7 separate regions of the Homo sapiens genome follow, and regions 1, 2, 4, 5, 6 and 7 are each linked to region 3. Evidence: promoter capture Hi-C in human tissues and cell types (Jung and others, 2019). All regions are on one chromosome and are shown on one strand. Each heading gives the region's core, a stretch centred on a gene start or on the middle of the fragment in contact. The rest is flanking DNA. Distances are from core to core; before and after follow the strand shown. Region 1 has its middle 54 kb from the start of LINC02424. Region 2 overlaps LINC02424 (long intergenic non-protein coding RNA 2424). Region 3 holds the start of SYT1 (synaptotagmin 1). Region 4 overlaps SYT1 (synaptotagmin 1). Region 5 overlaps SYT1 (synaptotagmin 1). Region 6 has its middle 14 kb from the start of LINC02424. Region 7 has its middle 31 kb from the start of LINC02424.

Region 1 (3,976 bases), core at 625-3,124, 450 kb after region 3:
ACTTAGTTTTTGGCTAATTGTTTGATTATGAAATCAGGGTAGTCAGTTCTGAAACAAAAGTTATTTCACAAAAGGAAGCACTTTAATAACCAAAAGAGGGAAAAAAAAAGAGAAAAACTGATATGTTCTGTAGTTGATATTAATAGGTATTTTATTAAAGGCAAGGTGAACTAACTTTATAAAACATACTCTGATGCCTTTTCTGTAAAAAATATGAACCATTTTAGGACATTTTATGCATCTGTAGGCTCAGACACTGACTTAAGTGTTATAAGCAGTTCATTATATTTTTTTGTGAAGAAAAGGGACATTTTATTTCTATCATTTAAATTTCTGTAACATTCATGCTAGACAGCTTATTGTAAGTTTAAAGTACAGAATAACAGTGTGCACATCTTTAGGATGTTAGAGATTTATTTCTGGTCTGCAAATAGGGGATTGACTAGAACCATTCATTAATTCCACAAATATACAGTCAGCTTTTTCTGGGTTTTAGGTATGTACAACGTTGAGGAAAATGTGATCCTTGACCCAAGGAGCTTATAGCCTAAGAGAGAAGTTACAGGACACGTGCATATTCTTATTATTAAATAAAACATTCAAAATCATTAGAGGTTAAAAAGTGCTTTTGAATTTAGAGGAGTAAAAAATATATACATGGAACAGTTATCAAAGGTTCATTAGGATGGGTCTTAATATTAAGTCCTTAATGTTTGGGCAAAAATTAGATGAAATCAATTGAATGAGTTTGGAGGAGTAACAGTAACAAGAGACTAGAAGAATGAGAAGGTAAGTATGGTCCTTGACAGTGAATAATCCCATCTGACTAGAAAATAGAGTACGGGAAAAATGAAGACAGAAAAGGAAGCTTAATAAAAATCTTGTACGTTTCTTGAATGTTGAGCTAAATAATTTGGACTTTATTCCTCAAGTAATTAAGAAGAATGAGAATTAGTATATATTGCATTATTATGCACCTTCTAAAACCAGTTATTTACATAGGCTATGTAATTTAATTTCCTCATCAACCTCATAATGAAAGCAATTTACACACAGGAGTCTGTAAATGGGATTTAAGTGGCTCTTGTTCCAAAGCTCCTTTTTCTACATGACTTCTTTGTGGTCATAAATGACTTTGAGAATTTCATGAATGCTATGGAACTTCTTTCCAAAGAAATGCATATGTACACATATAGAAATGCATATGTACACATATACACAAAATTTCTCTTATAATTTCATGGTATTTATTAATTTCCATTTTCATTCCCTGTTAAAACACTCTTGCTCCACCCAAAGATATCTCTCATAAGGCAATGCATTTCCTTCTGATTCCATGATCCAGTAATATTTCAACATGGGAATATATAAAATAATACTATAGAACTGAGTTTTCAATAAGGCCATTATGTTTCCTATTGTATCAATAAAAAAGGAATGTGTAAATTAAATGATTAAAACAACGTAATAATTTCACCCCAAATTTGAAAGTATTCATCTTATAAAACAAAACAGATTGGTCTAAATCTGAACCAGCTCACATTAATTTGAATTTCTTCAATGTTTTATTAGCTTTTACTTGTCTTAATATTTTTATCTAATGTTTTCCCTTTTTAAAAAATTTGAATATCCTATTTTTACCCATATCTTTCAATTTAAATATAAACATTTTTCTTGGTTGGAAATTTTTGCATTTCAGTTGCTTAGCCATTTTGTCCTTAAGGTCTTAGGGACAAAATGGCTAAATCTGAGTCCTGAATCTCTATTGCTAGCAATGTGAATCTGGACACATTACACACACTGCATTTTATTTAAAACCAGAAAACTCTGTCAGGTTCTTTTCCTGAAAACTGGGAATAATAGTAATTATGCCCTTCCTTAAATGATTATTAAATGTAGAAAATTTCTAAATGATCGAAGTAGTTTGATATCCATTATATCCATTACTATTCAATTCATGACCATTCTTTAAAACCTAGTTGTAACAGCATTAAGTTTGGGAATTTTTTTTTTTTTTTTTTTTTTTTTTTTTTTTAAGACAGAATCTTATTCTGTCACTCAGGCTGGAGTAAAGTGGCATAATCTCGGCTCATGGCAACCTCCACCTCCCAGGTGTAAGTGACTCTCCTGCCTCAGTCTCCCAAGTAGCGGGGACTATAGGTGCACACCACCATGCCTGGCTAATTTTTGTATTTTTAATAGAGACAGGGTCTCACCAGCCTGTTTTGTTGGCCAGGCTGATCTCGAACTCCTGACCTTAGGTGATCCACCTGCCTCGTCCTCTCAAACTGCTAAGGTTACAGGTGTGAGCCACTATGCCCAGCCAAGAAACAACTTTAAAAGGCAAATATTTAAGAATAAGAAAAAGCATAGTTTAAAAGATAAATATATAAATAATAAATGATATAAGTGATATAATAAGAGCTTGATATAAAATGTTAGGAAAACACAGAAGAAGTAATGACTGAGTCCTGGAATAGTGCAATAAAGAGGTAACATTTGAGTGGAACCTTCCAGAAGGGGTTTTCTAGGTTGACTTAGCTGACTATTAAAGTAATTCTCTATGTAAAACAGCAGCTTCCTGTTCTTGTATAACATATTAGCCCATGGAACATGCTTTAGAATATGAACATTACAGAAGCAAGAGAGAAATGCTATATTTTGATTTAAATGCTACTTACTGGGCCATTCATATGGTTGAAAACATGCAATATCTTTTCAGTTACGTTGAGAAGTGCATACATTGCATTTGTTTGAAATTCAGGTATTAAAGTCAGTCATGTAAATGACATTTTAAAAAACAATGAAACGAATGTATTACTTGAGGGGTCAAATATATTTTGTATTGTCAATCAGTTTGAAAATTCTTATGAGTAATAATTACCAACTCTAAACCACACAAATGACATTGTTTCTAAATATGTCACCAAGGATGGGTGTCTCTCCATGTCAATTCCCTCCTTGATATTGCACTTGTGTTCATCAGAGCTTCTTTTAAATAAAATATTTTAGGTTTAGGGGTACATGTATGTGCAGGATTTTTATATAGGTAAACTGCATGTTGTTGGAGTTAGCTGTGCAGATTATTTAGTCACCCAGGTAATAAGGATAATACCCAATAAGTATTTTTTTAATCCACTCCCTCCTCTCACCTTCCACCCTCAAAGTAGGCCCCAGTGTCTGGTAGTTCTCCTCTTTGTGTCCCTGTGTTCTTGTTGTTTAGCTCCCACTTATAAGTAAGAAGATGCAGTATTTGGTTTTCTGTTTCTATATTAGTTTGCTTAGGACAATGGCCTCCAGCTCCACCCATGTTGCTGCAAAGGACATGATCTCATACTCTTTTTTTCCAGGTAAAATTATTTATTTTATTTTTTAACTTTTATTAAGTTCCGAGATACATGAGGTTTGTTACACAGGTAAACTTGTGTCAGGTGGGTTTGTTGTATAGATTGTTTCATCACCCAGGTATTAAGCCTAGTACCCATTAGTTATTTTTCCTGATTTTCTCCCTCTTCCCACACTCCAGTCTCCAGTAGATCTCATTCTTTTTTATGGCTGCATAGTATTCCATGATGTATATGTACCATATTTTCTTTATTCAGTCTACCAGTGATGATCATTTAGATTGATTCCATGTCTTTCCTACTGTGAATGATGCATGATTAACAGACATGCATGTGTCTTTATGGTAGAATGAATTATATTCCTTTGGGTATATACTCAACAATGGGATTGCTGGGTGGAATAGTAATTCTGTTTTAAGTTCTTTGAGAAATCGCATCAGAATGGCCATTGCTAAAAAGTCAAAAAATAACAGATGCCGCAAGGTTGCAGAGAAAAGGGAACACTTACAAACTGCTGGTGGGAGTTTAAGTTAATTCAGCCACTGTGGAAAACGGAGCTGCTTTTCTTGCTCTGCCAGGAATCAGTATAGTCATCTAACATTTACTGAGTCTTTAATCTGTACCAGTTACAA
Region 2 (3,576 bases), core at 621-3,120, 510 kb after region 3:
AAATAAGAAACATTTGTCATCTGTTGTCTCTAAGGGCAGCCACAATAAGACTTCAAAAGGACCTTGGTCTCTTGGTCTCCACAATCTTTTATCTTAACCTGAACATTTCCTTGAGATAGAGTCTCTGTTACCCAGGCTGGAGTGCAGTGGTGCGATCTTGGCTTACTACAGCCTCTGCATCCCAAGTTCAAGCAATTCTCCCATCTCAGCCTCCCAAGTAGCTGGGGCTACAGGTGCACGCCACCACGCCAGGCTAATTTTTGTATTTTTAGTAGAGATGGGGTTTAACTATGTTGGTCAGGCTGATCTCGAACTCCTGACCTCAGGTGATCTGCCTGGTTCGGCCTCCCAAAGTGCTGGGATTACAGGCGTGAGCCACCGTGCCTGGCCTGAACATTTCCTTTCTATTGATCCCAGGTCTTCAGACAAACCCAATCAATTGTCAACCAGAAAATGCTTAAATTTATCTACAGTCTGGAAGCCCCCACTTTGCTTTGTCCCACCTTTCTGAACCAAACCAATGTATTTCTTAAATGTATTTGATTGATGTCTCATGCCTCCTTAAAATATATAAAACCAAGCTGTACTCCAACCACCTTGGGCACATGATCTCAGAACCTCCTGAGGGCTGTGTCACGGGCCATGATCACTCATATTTGGCTCAGAATAAATCTCTAAAAGTATTTTACAGAATTTCACTCTTTTTGTCAACAAGCACAAAAGACGTTGAAGGTATTTTGACATCTTCGTATGGAAATATAGTGCATTTTAAAATTCACATCCTTTATCAAGAATTTTGTTAGTATGCCTATAAAGTCTCCATAGGTAGAAACAATATTGGATAGGGTAGACCTCTCTAGTTCCTGACTAAACACTTCTTTCTTACTAGCAATGGTTATAATTATTTTTAATCATTTATAAACTTATCTTAATTTTGCTGATATTCAAAGCTTAAACTTGAGGTTTTTACGGTAAATCTTCTTAAAAGTCTTGCTATGCTTCAGATGTACTGTTTTCCATATTTCCATTTGCTAAAGTATCAGAGATATAAAAATGCAGTTATTTATAGAGTTGGCATTGAAGCCTAGAGTTAATTATTCCAATCATATTGGTATTAATCTAGGCAATTGTCAATAAATCAAAAAGATGGAGAAAATGAGTGGCAGTCAGATATTCTGGATATTGTAGAGACAGACCTGAGTCAATTATTTGAAAATTTGTTATAGCTATACTAAAAATAACCAAATAAATTTGCAAAGAATCACTTAAACTGTGCATAAAGAGGCAAATTGAATTTTTCTGTATGTATAATTTTAGTTATGTATCCAGAATATTACATTTTATTTTCTGTGATTATTTAAAATAGTCTTACAAGTGTTAAGGCTATAATTTCTGAATATGTAAAGTTCAGCATACCATATTTTAGCCACAGATATCTGATTGACTAAATTATTTTCTACTACATAATTTGAGTCTCAATATATTAAGACAGTATAAGAAATGATTTTATTAGATGGAAGTTAGTAGAACTGGGACTCTAGGAGACACGGGCTTTAACTAAACAAGAAATCAATATGAATACTTTGGGTCAAATGACTAATCGATCAGTCAATCAGGACAAAAAGCAGTCAAATTAATTTTGTTTGAATTTACTAGAATATTTTTATTTAAAAAAGATTAGTCAAATTAATTGACCATTTGATGCAAAAGAGTCTATTGTGTGAATAAAATTGCTTTTGAAAATCTCTATGTTTTACAGATAGATAAAATGAAATTTGATCACTCAATATAATAGATCTAATAAGTATTTGTTCATTTATTTAATCTAATAACAAATATTTGTGATGTTTCAATATGAGATATTGAAACTCATATTGTTATGAGATACAGTAAGTTAAAGGACATATATATTAATGTGCAAAATATAATAACACAGGATGATGCAGGATGTGATCTATTATTTCAAATTATGTCTACTCATGAATAAATTACAATTTCATTAGAAGGACTCTGGAGAGCCTGGATTTTTGGACTGATTATTATTATTATTATTATTTGAGACGGAGTTTCGCTCTCATTGCCCAGGCTGGAGTACAAAGGCGCGATCTTGGTTCACCGCAACCTCTGCTTCCCAGGTTCAAGTGATTCGCCTGCCTCAGCCTTCCCAAGTAGCTGGGATTACAAGCATGCGCCACCATGCCCGGCTAATTTTGTGTTTTCAGTAGAGACGGGGTTTCTCCATGTTGGTCAGGCTGGTCCCGAACTCCCAACCTCAGGTGATCCGCCCACCTCGGCCTCCCAAAGTGCTGGGATTACAGGCATGAGCCACTGCGCCCAGCCTGGAGTGATTATTTTAATAGTCTTGCAATATACTATAAAGTTATTACAATGCCTTATGGAACTTGAACTGTAAGAACTGAACTAAATTCATCCTGAGCCAGGCAATGTTATTAAATCACATAAGACCTTGCCAGCGCACTGCGTACAATGTCAGGATCAGACAGGATATTGTAGAAAAGATTAATTTAAACTAAATACAAAAATATGTAGATGAAAAATAACTATTATAGGGAGATTTCGATAAAATCTTATGCTGGAGCTTAATTAGATGATAAAAATATGGTGACTCAAGTGCTTTGTCTATGAGAAGAGATGAAGAGAATCACAACTTGAACTCTTCAATGGTTAGGGGAAAAGGCTTCCCCAGGACCAGAAGCCTCATAGCAAATGGGTGAAGATAGAGGCCCAAAACCAACTTCCTTCTTTGATTTTATGCTGCACTTACAAAATTTCAAAAATGTCAGATTGTCTATACATCTGCACAGATAGAAATCCTCAGGGACTAAAAGATTTTAAAAACGAGTAGTCAGAAATGACTAAAATACAACTCCAATGCTTATATATATACCATAGTGTATGCGAGATCTAGAGAGTTGATTCTTCTCGCCCTTCTGATTGTAGAAAATGTATAACTTAATTATCCAGCGGCATTGTTAGTTGCTCTCCAGATAATTTTTAAGAATGAAAATACTGATATGCTAATATTTTATATCTGTGGAAAACTGTTAGTTGTTTCCCAACATTTTTCTTTTCTTTTTTTTTTTTTTTTTTTTTTTTTTTTTTTTTTTTTGAGACGGAGTCTTCCTCTGTCGCCCAGGCTCTGGAGTGCAGTGGTGCGATCTCAGCTCACTGCTAGCTCCGCCTCCCGGGTTCACGCCATTCTCCTGCCTCAGCCTCCCGAGTAGCTGGGACTACAGGCACCCGCCACCATGCCCGGCTAATTTTTTTGTATTTTTAGTAGAGACGGGGTTTTACCATGTTAGCCAGGATGGTCTCGATCTCCTGACCTCGTGATCTGCCCGCCTCAGCCTCCCAAAGTGCTGGGATTACAGGCGTGAGCCACTGCAGCCGGCCTCATTTTTCTGTCTTCCATAATAAAATGATTGTATCTGAATATATGACTGCTCAGCTAGAGGCAATATTTCCCAACCCTCCTTGCAGCTGGGCATGCTAATATGACTAAATTCAGAACAATGGAATGTTGAGCTTAATGGTAACTTACTCCTCACTTACTTA
Region 3 (3,951 bases), core at 1,452-3,951:
TATCATGTAAGGTCTCTCCCCAATCCACTCACTATATATTGGAATTAGTTCTGATTTCCAATACACAGATATTGAATTTTTTAGAAGTATTTGAAAAACTACTCATATCCATATTTTTAGATGTTATTTCTATAATTAACATTTGTAAAGAGTCATGAAAATAAATGTCACAAACCAAGCCTAAATTTTCACATATTCCTAAGACAGTGGAGAAATGAGAAAACAAAATCTTAATTTTCTCACATGAAGGCAGCTGGCTTCCTTTTTGTACATCTTTTCATGTCTAAACTTGTTAATTCAGTTGTACATACATGTGAGGTAATTAAGTGATTGTCCCTTTGTCCTTGTAACCAAAAGGTGGCACCTCTAAAAACCAGAGTTAGCTTTCAACAGAGACACTATTTTTTTTTTTTTTTCATTTAAATGTCAAAGCCCTAGAAAGAAAATCGTTTTTCGTGACTTGGTAATTCTATTTAGGGAGAGATCATTGCCTCAAATGCAAAATGGTTTGGAAAATAGTACACATTACACTGATGGCAAATGAATTCAGCTCTTCTCTAAGTTGGTGTGTAAACTTATATATTAAACGTACGTAGTGAAAAAATACTCTCTGAGATACAAAATTAGTGTGGAAGGTCAGACACAGTTAAGATAGAAGATTCTCTTTTCTTATATCAAGTGGAGTTCTAGACAAAAAAAAGTAAGACTCTGCATTTCCCCTGATAAATAAAAAGAAGTGTTTTGTATACTAACATCTGTGGATTTCTCTGTGTTCAGGTAAGACCCACTTGGAATGCTTTCCTATTACATCAAACGAGGCATTTCTCTATACCTCCTTCCATCTGACAGTACTATCGCTTAGCTGTCCCTGAAGAATAATAAGAAAAGAAAGCTTATATCCCCAATGATGGAATTAGAGACTGCTGAAGCTGCTGTAAAGGCTCTGTCCAACAAGTACCATTTACTTGACCTATTATGCAGGCAGCCAGGGGCATGTTGGTGTTTTGATATATTTTTCTTTCTTTTAACAAGACGTTACAAAAATGTTTTCCCCTTCAGGATTTTTAAAATTTAGGGTATCTTTCTAGCATTACTTTCTAAACTTAGTTCCAGTACAGGAGGATTCTTGTCCAACTGAGCCTCCATGTGCCTTCTAAAGGGAGTGCTGAAATTGTATAAACATCATGTTTACATCCATTAAATATTGTCCTATTAAAAGAAAATAAAGCCAGGCATAAGTTTGGTATCCAGACAATAAAATGCAAATAGTACAAAGGTAGAATAAAGTGAAAATTCTACACAAATGTAGCTTCCATACAAAAGTTAAACAGTTGCTTTATTTCACGAAAGGGTTAATACTGGAGAAAGTGAATATCAACATGTACACAAAGCTAACTAGAAGATTAGCTTTCTCAAAGTAGAAATCCAAGCCTCCCTATAAAATTGTTGTCCCTTGCAAATGTTTTGAAACTTTACATTTTTTGATCCCCCAACAACAGGCCATACCAAGAAACCTCAGGAAAGTAATAATCTATTTTAATTGTTTTTTTTTTTTTGTTACTCAAGAAAGCTTTCAAAGTTCAGATATTAACACTGATGTGCAATACCAAATTGTTAGCCCCACAGGACAGATGGAAACAGGAAAAGTCAGATGGTTGGCACTCAAAAGCAAAAGCAATTAAGCAGTTGAAAGTGGGTTGGATTGTCGGTTTATTTTTGTTCCATTTGAACGAATCAAGTGAGAGACATAGACTCTTGCAAGGAGGAAATCAAGTCAAACTTGACGCTTCCTCTCTCTGACAGCCCAAGCTGGACTGGTTGTCTACTCCCCTTATTCAGTTTAATTGCTTTATGTGCTCTGATTTTCGCAGAGCTTGTATTCTATCTTGTTTACGTTCCCCCCCCCCCCCATATCCCTCTCCCCAACAGAAAGAAATCTTTCTCCTTTCTTCACTCCCCCTCTTTCCTCTAAGAAAGGCAATCCTCTCCAGGAGGAGAAAGAAACGCTGTGCGTGCTTAGGGTGGGAGGAGGGCGAGAGGGGAGGTGTGGGAGAGAAAGAGAGAAAAGATTGAGATTGGGGGTGGGGGACGGAGGAGAGAGAACAAGAGAAGGAAAGAGGAAGCAAGAAGATGGGGGATGCCCAACATCAACTCCAGGCTCTAAATCACGGGCGCTGTGCAAAGTGCTTTTCCAGGAGATGCACATGTAGTCTCATATTTCTCACAATAGGCCACCCGGGGATCCCTCCCTAGGTCTCAGACTCCCACCACTAAAACCCAAGTGTATCGAGAAGAAAATCTTTGGGATGGATTCGAGCAGATAGGCACCGCCGAGGTGGCCGCGCCGCCAGTCCCGCTTCCTTACCTGGAGGGCGGACCGGGAGGTGGTGCCGGGTCTCGGTCCCCAGTGCTCTCCCCGCGTGGACCGGCGCGAGGCACACGCGTACTCTCGCTGCCTCCGCTCTTGGAGGGGCAGCCTGCAACACAAAAGGGGTGTGTGGGTGTGGGTGTGTGGGAGGTTTTCCAGGGCCACCAGCTGGTCCCACGTGGTCGCCCCCACCCTACACACACCCCTTCGGGGCGCCAAGCCCCCCTCTCGGCTGAGCACCACCCTGGGGACTTGCCCGGGGTGCAGCCTCAAGTTGCCGCTGCTAACTGCTGCTGCCGCTGCCGCTGCTGCAGGAGGAGGTGGAAAGACACTGGGGGCAGTACTCGGTCTAGAGCATCCCCACACTGCAGCTTCTCCAGGAATCCCTCCAGTGAGGAGGCGGCCGCCCATCATCTCCGAGCCCCAGCATCCTGATTGGCTCCACCTCGGGTACGCTGCGCCAAGGAGCCAATCCCCGCGCACTAATAATAGGTGGATCCGTTCAGCCAACATCGCCCATCCCAGTTCTGTTAGTGTCTCTCCATCCCCACAGCGGACAGGGACCTGGGAAGCGGGGTGGAGGCGGGTTGGGGGAGGGGGTGAAGTAAGAGGGGAACAGATCCCAAGGAGACACAATCAAGGGCGTCTGATAAAACCTCTAGGTAGACTCAGGAATGCCCCACAAGCTGTTCAGCAAGCAGTATGCACAGGAGAAAGAGAGCATAATACAAAGCTTTTTTTTTTTTTTTTTTACTCTCAATCAAAACCTACCCTGATACTGAGCATGCCCAGACTGCAACAGCGACCTAGGAGTTTCGATGTGTGTGGGTTCGCCAGCTGTGGGTTTTTGAAAAGCTGGGACCGGGGACAGGAGAGGTAGAAGTTTGTCTTTGGCCATTTAACCCGGCGGAGTTGTGAAAGCTGGGTAGGGTGGGGATGTGAAAGGGTTCCGCACAAGTGTCCTCAAACTGAGCCGCGGGGAGGTGGCCCACCTGGCTGCCGGAGGCTCATCATGCTGTTCTTCTGGGGTTCCGGGTTGGAAGCGGGGGCGGGATAAGCTGAGCTTTGCTGGAAGCCTGGGGACTTCCCGCGAAGGGTGCGGTGGAGCCGAGATGCGGGAGAAGCAGCTCCGTCCCATAGGTGGGGCCGGGAGCGCGACTCCACCCATCAGCGGCGGCTGCCAGGCCGTGGAGAGTGCACTGGGAGTTTCCATTGCAGCGACCAATAAGTTTGTACACTTGGGTCAAGTGCAACATTGTTGGAGATGCTTTTTTATTTTTTCATTTTTATTTTTTGCCACCTCCCTCCCCCATCTCTCTCGACCCCTTGCCAGAGCAGTGACGACTAAAGCATAGATTCTCTCCCTGCTTCCTCTCTTCCCAGCTGAACCGTTCTGCTCGGAAGTAAGAAGCTTTTCTCTTGTGAGGGCGGTGGTGACCTGATTGTCTCTAAGCTCTCAGGCAATTTATAGCTTGGTAATACCGAAATACCGAACAGGAAGGCTCAGCGGGTGGGGGAAGGGACCGCGCGCCAGGCTAGGGGCGGGAGCGGAGCCCAGCTGGGAGAGGGGCCCGTCCATTATC
Region 4 (3,567 bases), core at 541-3,040, 500 kb before region 3:
GTCAGTGTGGCAATTCCTCAGGGATCTAGAACTAGAAATACCATTTGACCCAGCCATCCCATTACTGGGTATATACCCAAAGGACTATAAATCATGCTGCTGTAAAGACACATGCACACGTATGTTTATTGAGGCACTATTCACAATAGCAAAGACTTGGAACCAATCCAAATGTCCAAAAATGATAGACTGGATTAAGAAAATGTGGCACATATACACCATGGAATACTATGCAGCCATAAAAAATGATGAGTTCATGTCCTTTGTAGGGACATGGATGAAATTGGAAGTCATCATTCTCAGTAAACTATTGCAAGGAAAAAAAATCAAACACCGCGTGTTCTCACTCATAGGTGGGAATTGAACAATGAGAACACATGGACACAGGAAGGGGAACATCACACTCTGGGGACTGTTGTGGGGTGGGGGGAGGGATAGCTTTAGGAGATATACCTAATGCTAAATGACGGGTTAATGGGTGCAGCACACCAGCATGGCACATGTATACATATGTAACTAACCTGCGCATTGTGCACATGTACCCTAAAACTTAAAGTATAATAATAATTTTTTTTTTTAAAAAAAGGTATCATCTCTGCTGTAGGACTAATAAGCAATATTTTTTTTTCACATTTCTTACCTAGGTTCTTAGTATATGTTTTAACTGAGCTACTTATCTGAGATTCTTAGTATATGCTTTAACTGAACTATTTATCCTACCGGCAAGTGGAGCAATTCATCTGATTTAAGGAGAAGGCAGACGTATAATCCAACCAGGTTTTTCTATTTTTTTTTTGAAATGCCAAGATGGGCACAGCCTGGAGATATGTTTAATATGGAAAATGAAATTTCATCGAGAGGAAAGCAAGCTGAAGAGAGTCAAAGGGTGTTTGGATGCAAGCATGTAGAAATTTACATGGGTAACTTTCTTGTTTTTAATGTTGACTACTTGTGGAGATTAAGAATTTGTAGAGACAGGTGAAAGATGAAACCTTGACCACTCAATTATGTAGCAATGAACAACAAATACTGACTCATATTGCATCAATTAGGTATTTATTACCTGGGGCAAAATTATTTGGAAAGACAACCAGGAGCTGCTCTGGGACCAGGTCCTGCCACTTCTAGTCAAATTAACATTGCAACAGCAGGTTCCAACTTGCGGTGGTTCATTTTAGAGAGAGGGAGAGTTTGTCCAGCAACCAGGCATTAACTTGATAATTAGGATGACAGAGGCTCTGTTCTTCCTCTTTGTCCCTACTTGTTGCCCAAATTAGCTGTGTCTGTCTTGGATCTGTTATCATAAAAGAAGTACTTGGAAGACAACTCGGTGTCTTAACTCAAATAAATAGCTTAACAAACTGAAGATCGTAGAAATATACTACTGGTCTGATTTCTTATAAAATATGCTGGGTCTTGTGGCCACAAGTTACAGGAGATGGGAGGAGGATTTGCTGTTAGCTTCAGGATGCCAACATAAGTTAGCCAAAGCAGTTAACTGCCATCCAAATAATGAAGAGGCATTCTTTGAACACACACACACACACACACACACACACACACACACACACACACACACACACAGTATTATTTATATCAGCCATATAGGAACACACATTCTCCTGGAGCCAGGATATGGTGACAAAAATTAAGAGTTAACCAAGAACTGTCTTTTGCTTAGAAATAACCAATATTTATATAGTGCTTTCTACCTGGAGCTTTCACCTAATGTTATCTCATTTGTTTATTCAACAATATGGCTGTCTCTAATACCCTAGTTTTATAGATGAACAGACTGAGGATCAGAAAGGTTAAAGGCTTCCGATCCAGGCTTTCCAGGGCCAGTTGCTGCTCCCTTTCTGCTGCGCCCTGCTGTCTCTCAGGAGAGGGCCTGTTTATGGCTGAGTTGCAACTCCACTGGAGGCCAAGGAGGCAGGGACAAATGCTGGCATTTTCAGATAGGTATTTATTATTAGGCTTTGCCTTGTAGTAACTGTTAAATCATGCCTTAGGCCTGCCTCTTGGCAAGGTCAGGGCACATATAAAGCATTTCTATAAAGTTAAATTCCTGATGGGAGGCTTTTAAGGTTTTTATATTTTAATGGAGTTATTAAAATGAAAGTTCAGACTTGCATAATTCATAAACATTCACTGCCTCTTTTAAAATCTCTTCTACTAAGCTATTTTTAAAAAATTTTGGTGAAATCCTTATAAACATAAAACACTAACATATCTTTCAGGTAAGATTAGAATAGATTCCTAATTACTGTAACTGGAGATATACTGTGATATATTATTGCCCTTTAGGCTAGTTTCATTTGCAATATTTTCACTACATTAAAGACAGTGCTGTAAAATGCAGGAGTGTTTTCTAGATACACGAATTGGCAACTTTTAGTAAAAGTAGCTTTCAGATGCTTAATTGTTTTTATAAAGTCTAGAAATTGGGAACTTCCCTTCAAAATGACTTTCATAGCGGTATGTATTTTTACTTTGACTTTTAGTGACTGTCACATATCTTTTCAAGTTGTTATCATAATAATGCTGCTGGATTGAGTGTTTTAATGGATTCAGACTCCTGCAAATATAGTTGATGAAAATATGAAAATCTACAAGCTAATGACCTGCTTTTTTTTTTTTTTTTCTGGTACTCTTTGCAATCAGTCTAGGCTGTCTTTTTAAGCAACACATTTTTAGATTTTGAACTTAGGGTAATTGCATCTTACTTTAAAATCCTTTCTTATTTAGATGCATAATGACATTGTATAAATGTAACATTTTACTTCTCAGCAACAGCAGCCAGTAGTAGAAGCAGCAGCAAGTAAATTTTAGGAACATTAATAAAATAGAGACTTTCTCCTATTGCTTTTCTTTCTCACTGATATGTAGAAACTCTTTGTATTACAGGGATATTAATACTTGATCTGTTTATGTGAGGCAAAGCTTTCTTTTCGTGTGTTACTCATCTTTCAAATTCATTTATGGCATTTATTTGGGAAGCATGACATCTTTACTATATTGTTCCCTATCCAAGAGCATGTTATTTTTCTATTTATTTAGGTCTCATTTGAAGTCTTTCAGTGAATTTATATAGTTTTTCTCATAGTTATATTTATAAGAGAATTACTAAATATACCATGATACATTCGAACAAAGGGATGCTATGCAACCACTAGATATGGCAGATCTATATGTTGGCCCAAAGGATCTCCATTATATATTGGTAGGTTAAAAATAATTACAGAATAATGTGTTTAAAATCCCATTTTGTAAAATGTATATATATTTGTATATATATGTATAGAATTGATATAAGCAGAAAGAAAACCTGGAAGGATATGAAATTTCAAATTATTTCCTTGAGTCAATTAACTCTGAGGAATGGGAAAGGATTAGAGGGGGCTGATTTGAGTTACTTTTTTACTTATGTATGAAAAGAAGTGGTGGGGTTGTGGATTAACTTTATTTCTTGAGCTTTCCTATAATTTTAAAACTAAAATTCTAGATAAATATTTAAACACAGGGCTATTTGTGAAAGCATTTGTTTCCTTAATAAGGATATGGAAG
Region 5 (3,520 bases), core at 378-2,877, 480 kb before region 3:
CCAAGGGGTTGCTTAAGCCAGAAAACTGGGCATTATCACTGATCGTTGATCATTGACTTCTTTTGAGTTCTGATTTTATTTATCATAAAATCTCTCAATAAGTTCACTTGTTTCCATCCTTATAGTCTTCACCATGTGATCAAATAATCTCTCATATAGATTACTCCAATACCCTCTTAATTGGTTTCCTGAAATTTACTCTTAGAATACAATTGACAGAGTCACCTTTTAAATAACAGGCATCGTATCTCACTCCTATAATCCCCGCACTTTGGGAGGCCAAGGAGGGCGAATAGCTTGAAACCAGGATTTTGAGACCAGTCTGGGCAATGAAGCCAGACTCTATCTCTACAAAAAACAAAAAAATAGCCGGGCATGGTGGTGCATGCCTGTGGTTCCAGTGACTCAGGAGGCTGAGGCAGGAAGATCAGTTGAGCCCGAGAGTTTGAGTCTTCAGTGAGCTATGATTGTGGCACTGCACTCCAGCCTGGGCAACAGAGCAAGACCCTGTCTCTAAAAAACAAAACATCAAAAAACCAAATCTTAAAATCCTTAAGTAGGTCTCCTATCTCTCTTGAGTTAAAAGGCCCAAATTCTTATGATCATTTAGAATAATCTTCAAGTTCTATTTCCTACTTATTCCTCTGCCTCATCAAATGCCTCTTTCTCCCTCTGCGCAACAGCCACAAGGGGAAAGCCTTCTTTATATCATTAACTGTGCCACGCCACCTACACTTTCAGAGGCTTCACATAAACAGTTCCTTTTGCTTGACATTCTGCCCTCTTGCCACCCTCCCGTTTACTTAGTTAACTTTCACTCATCTTTCACATCTTTCTGAATGACGAGGCGGGTGGATCACGAGGTCAGGAGATCAAGACCATCCTGGCTAACACGGTGAAACTCCGTCTCTACTAAAAATACAAAAAATTAGCTGGGCATGGTGGCGGGTGCCTATAGTCCCAGCTACTTGGGAGGCTGAGGCAGGAGAATGGTGTGAACCTGGGAGTTGGAGCTTGCAGTGAGCTGAGATCATGCCACTGCACTCCAGCCTAGGCAACAGAGCGAGACTCTGTCTCAAAAAAAAAAAAAAAAAAAAAAAAAAGAATGAATGTATTTATTAAGTATTCCACTCTGGCAGAGACTGCCAGAGTCTCTGTAGTTTACCAAAAGTCCACGCTCTTCTTCCTGAGAACACAGCTAGACTACATTTCCCAGCCTTTCTTGTAGTTAGATGTGGTCTTGTGATTGGGTTCTAGCTAATGGAATGTGAACAGAAGTGATGTGCACCACTCCTAGACCCAGTCCCCCAGAACTCCTACCCATGATTTTTTTTCTTTTCTATGTCTGTGATAGTGACCTCAGAGTGACCTTGGAAGCTACATGCTGAAATGCTGAAGATGGCAGAGGTTCAGTGAGACAGGATCCTTGAAGATTTAATAAAGCAGAGCCCTACCTGCCAAGACTTCTCTTTTGCAGAACCCATTACGTGTTTGGGCCTATTTGTTATTGTAGCCTAGCCTGAAATAATTAATACTAATAATAAATAAATGACTTCTAAACAGTGTTTTCAGAAGTATAATTAGTGATCCACTTAAAAATCTGTGGTTTGTAGAAAATGAGTAAAGCTTAGTCTTATATGTCAAACCCTTATGTTGGGTTTTCAATATGCCAGTCATGCTACAAAGAACTAGAAACAAAGGATGATTAAAACATGTCTTTGCCCTAAGAAGCTTTTTCAATGCTGGCATGAACAGGCATATAAACAAAAATTCAACATAAAATTGTAGGTGTCATTATAGAAACATGTATTAGGAAGGACCACTATAGAGAAAGTAGAGGAATTTGTAAATAATTACTACTGTGACTTTTTAGTGGAGAGTAGGGAAAAGTGAATTCCAAAAGTGTCCTTGTCAAAAGATTCTTTATGCTATAGTGTGCTGAGGTACTTGAAATTCTACCATTTATTACCTTTAGCTAAAGCTTTAGATCTCTATGGGTCCTTTAAAACAATATGAAACACTGTTTCACCCCCTAATGGGCAACATGGCATCCATCATGGTATGAAATTGTAGTTGGCCAGAGGGCAATCAGGCAAGGGAAAGAAATAAAGGGTATTCAATTAGGAAAACAGGAAGTCAAATTGTCCCTGTTTGCAGATGACATGATTGTATATTTAGAAAACCCCATTGTCTCAGCCCAAAATCTCCTTAAGCTGATAAGCAACTTCAGCAGTCTCAGGATACAAAATCAATATGCAAAATCACAAGCATTCTTATACACCAATAACAGACAAACAGAGAGCCAAATCATGAGTGAGCTCCCATTCACAATTACCACAAAGAGAAAAAAATACCTAGGAATCCAACTTACAAGGGATGTGAAGGACCTCTTCAAGGAGAACTACAAACCACTGCTCAAGGAAATAAAAGAGGACACAAGCAAATGGAAGAACACTCCATGTTCATGGACAGGAAGAATGAATATCATGAAAATGGCCATACTGCCCAAGGTAATTTATAGATTCAGTGCCATCCCCATCAAGCTACCAATGACTTTCTTCACAGAATTGGAAAAAACTACTTTAAAGTTCATATGGAACCAAAAAAGAGCCCGCATTGCCAAGACATCCTAAGCAAAAAGAACAAAGCTGGAGGCATCACACTACCTGACTTCAAACTATACTACAAGGCTACAGTAACCAAAACAGCATGGTACTGGTACCAAAACAGACATATAGACCAATGGAACAGAACAGAGCCCTCAGAAATAACACCACACATCTACAACCATCTGATCTTTGACAAAACTGACAAAAACAAGAAATGGGGAAAGGATTCCCTATTTAACAAATGGTGCTGGGAAAACTGGCTAGCCATTATGTAGAAAGCTGAAACTGGATCCCTTCCTTACACCTTATACAAAAATTAATTCAAGATGCATTAAAGACTTAAATGTTAGACCTAAAACCATAAAATCCCTAGAAGAAAACCTAGGCAATACCATTCAGGACGTAGGCATGGGCAAGGACTTCATGACTAAAACACCAAAAGCAATGACAACAAAAGTCAAAATAGACAAATGGGATCTAATTAAACTAAAGGGCTTCTGCACAGCAAAAGAAACTACCATCAGAGTGAACAGGTAACCTTCAGAATGGCAGAAAATTTTTGCAATCTACCCATCTGACAAAGGGCTAATTTCCAGAATCTACAAAGAACTTAAACAAATTTACAAGAAAAATCAAACGACCCCATCAAAACGTGGGCAAAGGATATGAACAGATACTTTTCAAAAGAAGACATTTATGCAGCCAACAGACACATGAAAAAATGCTCATCATCACTGGTCATCAGAGAAATGCAAATCAAAACCACAATGAGATACTATCTCACAACAGTTAGAATGGCGATCATTAAAAAGTCAGGAAACAACAGGTGCTGGAGAGGATGTGGAGAAATAGGAACACTTTTACACTGTTGGTGGGAGTGTAAATTAGTTCAACCATTGTGGAAGACAGTG
Region 6 (3,790 bases), core at 975-3,474, 490 kb after region 3:
TACAAACAATACAATTATACTCTTTATGTTAAAATATATAATTAAGTTATTATTGACTATAGTCATCTATTATGCTATCAAATAGTAGGTCTTATTCATTCTATTTTTTTCTTTCTCTATTTTCAAATGGATTTGAAACCATTTTAGAGCAAATCAGAATCACTGGACTTAGTGGATAACTTCCCAAATATTATTTGAAGAAGCAAAAATGCATTCAGATGTTTAATTGCTAGTAAATTTGTTTAAAACAAAAATGTCATGGCCTTATAATCACACTGTCAATCCAGTGACAAAACTATTAATAACTAATCTCTGGATGTGACTAGAGCTTTAGACCTTACTAAGAAGTTTTACATCCATAATTTCATTCAGTTCTCAAGGCAGATGAGAAGTGATGCTGGCAACGTGGCTTGTGCATCCAGAATGGATGTGGAGCAGTGCTCCTACCTGAGAGTCCATCTGTTGTTGTTTTCCAGAGAAAAAGAGTTTATGGTTAATAACATGATTATTTCTTTCATGGATACAGTGTTACTATCACAGATTGCTTACTCAATTTTAATACTCACTTTAAAATATAAGAATAAAAGTGGCAAAATTAGACTGAGTCTTCACAGATGATATTAAAATAGGCAAAAAAATATTAGAAGGCACAGGCTGGAAATGACTGCAGGAAGCATCCACATCATATCATGGAGGAGGAAACTCAGACCAAAAGTAAGAAACATAACAAAGAGACCACCATCTGTGGGTGTTATTTTGATTTGTATTGATTTATAAATAAAATTCTAATTTTCTAAAATTACTCTAATTCCAATTCATAATTCTAATTTATAAATAAGATTCTTGTTATTTGTACATGAAAATTTAGCTTTACTCAATACTGCACTAAACTGAGAAATTAAAAATTCAAAATTAGATCTCTGTGAGAAAATGTTGACAGAAGGCCTGTCACTGAGATGTATGCACTAATGCCTCGCCAGGCTGTTTCAAAGACAGGAAAGAAGTTAAAAAAAAAAAAAAAATCAAATATATGGATGCCATGAACAGAGGAAAGATTATTTAACTTCATCATATTAAATATAACTATATCAACACTGGTTTGATAAATATTTAAGGGTTTTGCTCATTCGAGGGTCTAAACTTGTACTGCAGAAGGGATAGCTATGAATTAGAATAAATCATTGGTTAAGCATGTTCGTTAACAAGAAATGTGATAAACAGTTGTTAAAAATATTAGTTGAGAGGCAATTAGGCTGAGGCAGCCCCAGTGCCCTGGGTTCCTAGTAAGCAAACAGAAATACAACTCAGTATAAAAGGCACAACAAAACTTAACCTTAACAATCGGGAATAACCAACTAACTTCGAACTAGGGACTTTCCACTGGAATGATCTAAATAAGGCTACTTGCAACACTTTCATTAATCAAATATTTTCTTTTCCTTGCTTCAGTGTTCCTCTTATAAAAATCTTCCAACTCCTTCCGTACCCTGCCTCCTTGCTAGAGCCCCAAACTGCCTGTAGTCTTTAGGCTGCCCCATTTACAAATCGATGTCTGCTCAGATCTACTCTTTACAACTTTATGGTATCTAAATTTATCTTTCAACACAATGGAAATAAACAATGGGGATAAAATGATAAATGTTGTAAGTGTTGTTAAAATGTTATAGAAAATTAATTCCAACCCCAGGTAGTTAGAAAGACTTCATGAAAGAGGTAGCAATTTTAAAGGAAGAATAGGACTCAGACATTCTAGGCAGAGAAAACAGTAGGGACATAGCACAGAGATTTTTGAAAAAAGTTTAGGTCATCGAGAGAGAAAAATGAATAACCTGGTTTGAGGACAAAGTAACACAGAGGGATAATAGTACCAAGAGATAAAAGCTCAGTGGGGTGAAGTCAGGAAAGCTTTGAATTTCATGCTAGGAAATGGGGCTTTATTTGATTGACAATGGCGCGTTATCAAAGAATTTTTAGCAGAGACATGCATGTTTACTACAGTGACGTAGAATGATTTTTCTAGGAGCTGTATTAAAGATACATGGAAAGGGAAAGACAGTGGAGATGTTCACAGAGAGAACCAGCCAACCTCTAAATTAGGAAACAAAAGTAGGGGCATACAGACATACAAGAGAGTTGAGGAAATGAATAGCTAAGCCATGGCTCCATAATGGCTGATACTGCTTGTTACATCAATTTGCTCTTTCCTCTTTTCAGCTAATCAATTTTTTGTGTTTAAATTTCAATTTAGATTTCTAAATAATGTAATTTTAAAATGCCAAAAATTATATCAATTGAATAATAACATAGATGTATACTGTTTTTTGTTTTGTTTTGTTTTGCTTCCTGCCATAAAGTGGTGGCAAGTGATGCCTGGCAAACATAAGTATTTAATTTTTTTAAAGGTGAAGTGTAGACTGCAAACACCATATAAACAAAGGGGATAGTGGCACTTACTTGCCTTTGTTTTAGGTTTTAGTGACCAGCTGAGAAACAGTGGAAGACCACAACCATCAAAAAGCCTATCTGCATATTCATCCACAGAAACACTCAGTGTTCATATGTAAAATATGTGGTTAGAGATAACCTATAAAAATATATATCTTTTGAGGCCAGTATAAGTTATCAAGACCAGAAAAGATTTCTTACATGAGAAAGGAGGAGAATAATTAAATATTAAATTTTATATCTGAGTGAAACATTGACAAAATTTGCTAACATCTATAAAGAATACAAGTACAACTATATATAAATCAATGTATAAATATTTGAAAGAAAAGATCAGCATAGTTTATGTGTCTCCATATGACAGAGAGGCAGGCACACTTGATGACAGAAAAGTGAAGCCCTTAATAGATCATGTAGTCTCAGAACTTCAGTCAGGCTTTTGTTTTCACCATACGTAATATTTCTGTACACAATTAGAATGCTTGTTAACTGGTATTGTCTCCATGTCATCTGGGTCCCATGGGGTCCTACTGGACACTGTTGCCACTCTATCAGGCAGTGCAGGGTAGTCCCAGAGTGACTGTCTCTCTTTTGTATTATTCTTTTTTGCTATTAATTATTCCTTTATAAGAGGAATCATAGGAATCATATACTTTTATATGTAAATGGGATTCTTTCTTTCACATTTAGATATATTCAAATCCCTCCCAAATCAGATTGAAGCATGTGTCTCTATGGGCAGTGGGGCAGGGGCAAGGCAGGATTGTTACAACAGTAACAAATATTAACCTTTAATTTCTGATCACCTTGTGCATTGCCCCTGGACCAACCTGGCAGTAGTCAAATTAATTCATTCCTTCATTCATTCGCTCGATCAATAAATGTTTCTTAGATGCTGATTTTATTTCAAATACTATCCTAGGCCCTGGAGATATATTGTGAATTATTATTTTATCCTTGTAGAGCTTATGTCTTAGTTGTTTTTCTAGAAACGCAAATAGATAATATTTCAGGTGGTGGTAAATTCTTTTTTTTTTTTTTTTTTTTGAGACACAGTATCGCTCTGTCACCCAGGCTGGGGTGCAATGGCGTGATCTCGGCTCACTGCAACCTCTGCCTCCCGGGTTAAAGGGATTCTCCTGCCTCAGTTTCCCGAGTAGCTAGGATTACAGGTGCCTGCCACCACGCCCAGCTATTTTTGTATTTTTACTAGAGTTGGGGTTTCACCATGCTGGTCAGCTGGTCTCAAACTCCCCACCTCAGGCAATCCACCTGCCTCAGCCTCCCAAAGTGCTGGGATTATAGGTGTGAGCCACTCCACCTAGCCCAGGTGGTAGTAAATTCT
Region 7 (3,916 bases), core at 1,172-3,671, 470 kb after region 3:
CCTTATTGCAGAGATGACGAAATGGAGATGCAAGTATTTCTACACTTTGCCTTGTCACATAACTAGCAGTAGATCCAAGAGAAATACATCTCTGATTTCCCAATTGAATGTCCTCTCTTCTGCAAGATACTGTTCCCAACAATATCAGAACTTAGATGCTTCCCCACCTGGTAAACAGCCACTTACCCAGTCTCCCAAAACACATGTACAAGTAAGTCAACAACAGTGTTGATTTTCAGATTCTATTACATACATTCCTCCAGTGGAAGGCAAATAAAGATATTAAGGTGGAAGAGTAAGTGGCAATGATTAATTTTCTGTACTTATTTTAGAGACTAATGTATTTGTTTGTTATTAATCTTTTGGTATTTATCTCCCAGAGTCCAGAGATGTCACTGATTTTAAAAAGGAAATAAAAAACTTTGGTCAATAATTACCATTATAATAAATAAAACCTAAAATATGTTAATTTGGTTTTTGTTGGTTTTTGCTTAATAACATAACTAATCATTGGGTTATATGGAAAGTAAAAAATAAACCATAAGTAACCAAAAAAGGTAGCTTCATGTGGTCAAGTAATTTTAGTATTTTTCCATTAATTTTTAACCTATTTGTTATATGTAAGTAATAATAACATCATTCCTTTACTAATCTATTTATTAATGTTGTATTATTCCTATTTTTAAAAGATTGGGCAATTCATTGATATGAACTAAAGTCATCTTTACCTGCACTAAAATTCAAAATTCCTAAGTCATACTTTCTAATAAATGGGATTTCCAAGGGTCTTATTCTTATGCACAGGGAATAGCTGCAGCTTCCTGGGAATCCCTCCATGGCTTCCTAGCATCTGTCCAAACCCTAAGAATAACAGGTAAGATACCTTAGTCCCTAGCCATGCCTTTAGTAGGCTGCAAACTAGAGGGTTCAAAGTGCTTTAAACTTGAAGTGATTGAATACAGATCTTATTTTTAGGGGAGAATGACAGCATAATTACCATGGAGAGACACTGAGTTCATGAGCTCTTGATCCATTGAGGTAGCATGAAGAAGAAAACATTTAGGATAAATGAATGAATATCATATTAAAATAATATTAAGAGAATATAGTAGAATAGTTAATATATACCCTTAAAAATTGTAACCCACAGCAAAAGTACATTTTACTGCAACTACACACATATATATGCATAAGTTAAGCACAGGAACAGGTGTTCCTATGCTTTAACAGAGAGATATAAAGTAAAGAAGTTCATTTCTCTCATGAGAAGTTCCAGATGGAAGAATCAGGCCTGGAATGTTGAGCTAGGTTTCTTCTCTTTTGGTGTCTGGCCTTCCTCATTACACCACATTTTTGTCTAAGCTAGGTGCTTCACTGCCCATCACCATGCCACACTCAATCAATGACAAAAAGGAAAAAACAAAAAAGAGGGGACTATTTAATAGATAGACATGATTTAATATTCTTTTTTTTCTGCTATAACATTAATACCACAGACTGGGTAATTTATAAAGAAAAGAAGTTTATTTAGCTTATGATTCTGGAGACTGAGAGGTCCAAGAGCATTGTACCAATCTGGCAAAGGCCTGAGGTGGCAAAACGGTAGAAGGGCAAGTGAGTGTGAGAGAGAAAAAAAACGGGCCAAACTTCCACAATAACTAACCCACTCCTGCAATAACAGCACTTGTCTATTCATGAGGCCAGAGCCCTCAAGACCTAACTACCTCTTAAATGTTCCACCCTTTAATACTGTTGCAATAGCAATTAAATTTCAACACGAGTTTTGGATGGGTTATTCAAACTACAGCAAGGTCATACTCTCGCCTTAAAGTTCATGCAATAGAAGTTATACGTTTCAATTCAGTTCATATCCTACTGGCAGGGCTTTATTATGCAGTCACATCTAGAGGTACAAGGGACTGGAAAATACCAGTTTTAGCTGAGTGGTCATGAGCTGAGTTAATATTCTATTAGGTGGAAAAAGATGTGTAGGCTAGGGTAATGCTAGCTTCTATTTAAAAACAAAAAAGAGAGGTCTCCTCAAATGAAAAATAGGTCAAACACAATCAAAGTTTATTTCTCATCTGTGTCTGGCATTTGTCAACAGAAATAGGCTTATACTGGCTCTGCCATCTTTAATACATGGGTTCCATTGCTGGGGAGGTGAGAGAGGTGTTCTCTTCTTTACATGGTTGAGGAAGTAAGAAAAGAGGATGGAGAAAGTATTCATGTTTCTTAAACACCTTCACCAAGAAATGACAGATTTAATGTGTCATTTTTATATCATCCATTGGCAAGCAGTTTTGTGATCCTATTTAGATGCAAAAGGGGCTTAAAAATGTCCCTGGATAAGCACCTACTTCCCAATATCAACTCTGTAGTATGCATGACAGCATGAATTTGGGTGGAAAGGTAGTTTTCTCTGGAATAGAAAAGAAGAATGAATATCGAAGTCTACTTCAGTCTCTGCCATCACTGCCGATTTAGGTCACACTTTTCAACGACAATTAAAACATGCTCTTCCCCATCCCACCCTCCAAGAGAGACAACTGAAAAGATCTATTCAGGTCCTGCATCTTGCTAAAGTTATCTTTCCCCTGCTCCCCAACCTAAACCATAGTGGTGAATAACAGGATAGACATAATATTTAAAAAGCTCAATTTTTAAAAAGGAAGAATAGAAACAATACAGCAGTAACTGGATTCAATATCATGGCAGTGGAGTAATTTCCTATGTTAAGCTATCTGGAAGCACTTTGAACCACTCTCTGCTGCACACCTTTCTTCGTTATTATCCTATGAATTTATGGCTTTGCCTTTAGGGAGGTTCTTGCATATCCATTATCTCCATGGCCAGATATGAAGTAGACATTGGAGAGTCTTACCAACTTGGTATGACTCAGAATGCTGGCAGGCTTCTTCCTGATGGTTGGTACAGGTTTAGGGAGACACAGTTTGCCTGAACGGGTAGGCTATGACAGACTTTTGTAAGCCTGGCCCGAGGTTTCTTTGGCAATGCAATACTGCAAAAACCTTTGGTAGGTCCACAGACTCTATTTCCACCAGTTCTGGTTGCAAGTAAATAAAGCCAAAGTTCTCATCTCAATGTTGTTTTTTAGCCTGAAAACTTTGGCCTTTAGTTACTTGCTTCCATGTCCTGTCAATTTCCTTCTTGCTCAATTTAATAGTGACCAACTTAAGGAGAAATAAAACAATTGGTTTTAGTAGGAAGGCAACATTCTTAATCTAATGTTTCCCACTGGGCTGGCTCCTATTGTCTGGCAGTCTTAATGGTTTTGTCCAGCCTTACTTATCTTCTGCTAAGACTATTTCTTGATTTAGAGACTCATTTTATCACTGCCTCAGTTTGGGCACAGAAGCCTTTGTTTTTCTGTCAGAATTGATTTTTAAAGCCCTGAATCATAAGACTCTAGTCAATTTAGATCACAGGCCAAAAACAAGTAAAGAAAAATAAAAACCCCAGAAAGCCTATCTTACCACAACTACATTTTTTTCCTTTTCACCTTGCAAGTGACTAGTTCTAACTTGAGTTGTCTCTCTAGTAAGACTCTGCTATGTGGAAAAAAAATTAAAAATTAAAAACAAAACAGCCAATGCAGGCAGCAAGAGTATAAGAGTTAAAGGCTTGGTTGGCAAATGGTCTTATGTCCAAGATCTCTCCAAGTCAACTTTCTAAAATGTTTTGCCATAATATACGTATTGTCAACAGCTATCCAGTCCAATATCTGTGTCCTCACTTCCTGCCACCTAGTCACTAAGCCAATATAGTATTTTTAAGTGTTGTTCCCATGGCCCACTCAATTTAACCATGGTCAGAGACAATCCGAAATAAAGCTTAAACAAGACAGATGCTTGTTTATGTCTTAATTAGAAGTCAGCTAGGTGGTCCAAAGATG

The links. Contacts are between HindIII fragments. The study calls those that stand out against the background at their distance.
Region 1: a contact is called between a fragment that was not itself captured here and the fragment with the promoter of SYT1 in region 3, in 1 of the 25 tissues and cell types used here (dorsolateral prefrontal cortex).
Region 2: a contact is called between a fragment that was not itself captured here and the fragment with the promoter of SYT1 in region 3, in 1 of the 25 tissues and cell types used here (dorsolateral prefrontal cortex).
Region 4: a contact is called between a fragment that was not itself captured here and the fragment with the promoter of SYT1 in region 3, in 2 of the 25 tissues and cell types used here (dorsolateral prefrontal cortex and hippocampus).
Region 5: a fragment that was not itself captured here is called in contact with the fragment with the promoter of SYT1 in region 3 in 3 of the 25 tissues and cell types used here (dorsolateral prefrontal cortex, lymphoblastoid cells and mesendoderm cells).
Region 6: a fragment that was not itself captured here is called in contact with the fragment with the promoter of SYT1 in region 3 in 2 of the 25 tissues and cell types used here (dorsolateral prefrontal cortex and lymphoblastoid cells).
Region 7: a fragment that was not itself captured here is called in contact with the fragment with the promoter of SYT1 in region 3 in 2 of the 25 tissues and cell types used here (dorsolateral prefrontal cortex and mesendoderm cells).

What each region holds. Positions count from the first base shown.
Region 1 is chr12:78,411,379-78,415,354 of GRCh38, reverse strand. No RefSeq gene overlaps it. Among named protein-coding and RNA genes, the nearest start is that of LINC02424, 54 kb to the right of the region's middle. The HindIII fragment of the contact is 8,122 bases long and covers 1-3,976 here.
Region 2 is chr12:78,352,678-78,356,253 of GRCh38, reverse strand. All of the region lies in intron 1 of LINC02424 (long intergenic non-protein coding RNA 2424), which reads left to right. LOC105369859 (a long non-coding RNA gene) reads right to left here. Exons shown (of 3, transcript XR_945130.2): 3 at 3,568-3,576. Among named protein-coding and RNA genes, the nearest start is that of LINC02424, 5.3 kb to the left of the region's middle. The HindIII fragment of the contact is 3,570 bases long and covers 86-3,576 here.
Region 3 is chr12:78,863,524-78,867,474 of GRCh38, reverse strand. It overlaps SYT1 (synaptotagmin 1), which reads right to left and starts at 2,701. Exons shown (of 11, transcript NM_005639.3): 1 at 2,366-2,701. RefSeq lists a silencer at 3,858-3,917. The HindIII fragment of the contact is 3,235 bases long and covers 2,337-3,951 here.
Region 4 is chr12:79,364,912-79,368,478 of GRCh38, reverse strand. All of the region lies in intron 9 of SYT1 (synaptotagmin 1), which reads right to left. Among named protein-coding and RNA genes, the nearest start is that of MIR1252, 53 kb to the left of the region's middle. The HindIII fragment of the contact is 5,891 bases long and covers 1-3,567 here.
Region 5 is chr12:79,339,244-79,342,763 of GRCh38, reverse strand. The region is part of intron 8 of SYT1 (synaptotagmin 1); the gene reads right to left. Among named protein-coding and RNA genes, the nearest start is that of MIR1252, 78 kb to the left of the region's middle. The HindIII fragment of the contact is 5,061 bases long and covers 1-3,520 here.
Region 6 is chr12:78,372,287-78,376,076 of GRCh38, reverse strand. No RefSeq gene overlaps it. Among named protein-coding and RNA genes, the nearest start is that of LINC02424, 14 kb to the right of the region's middle. The HindIII fragment of the contact is 7,939 bases long and covers 1-3,790 here.
Region 7 is chr12:78,388,898-78,392,813 of GRCh38, reverse strand. No RefSeq gene overlaps it. Among named protein-coding and RNA genes, the nearest start is that of LINC02424, 31 kb to the right of the region's middle. The HindIII fragment of the contact is 4,254 bases long and covers 295-3,916 here.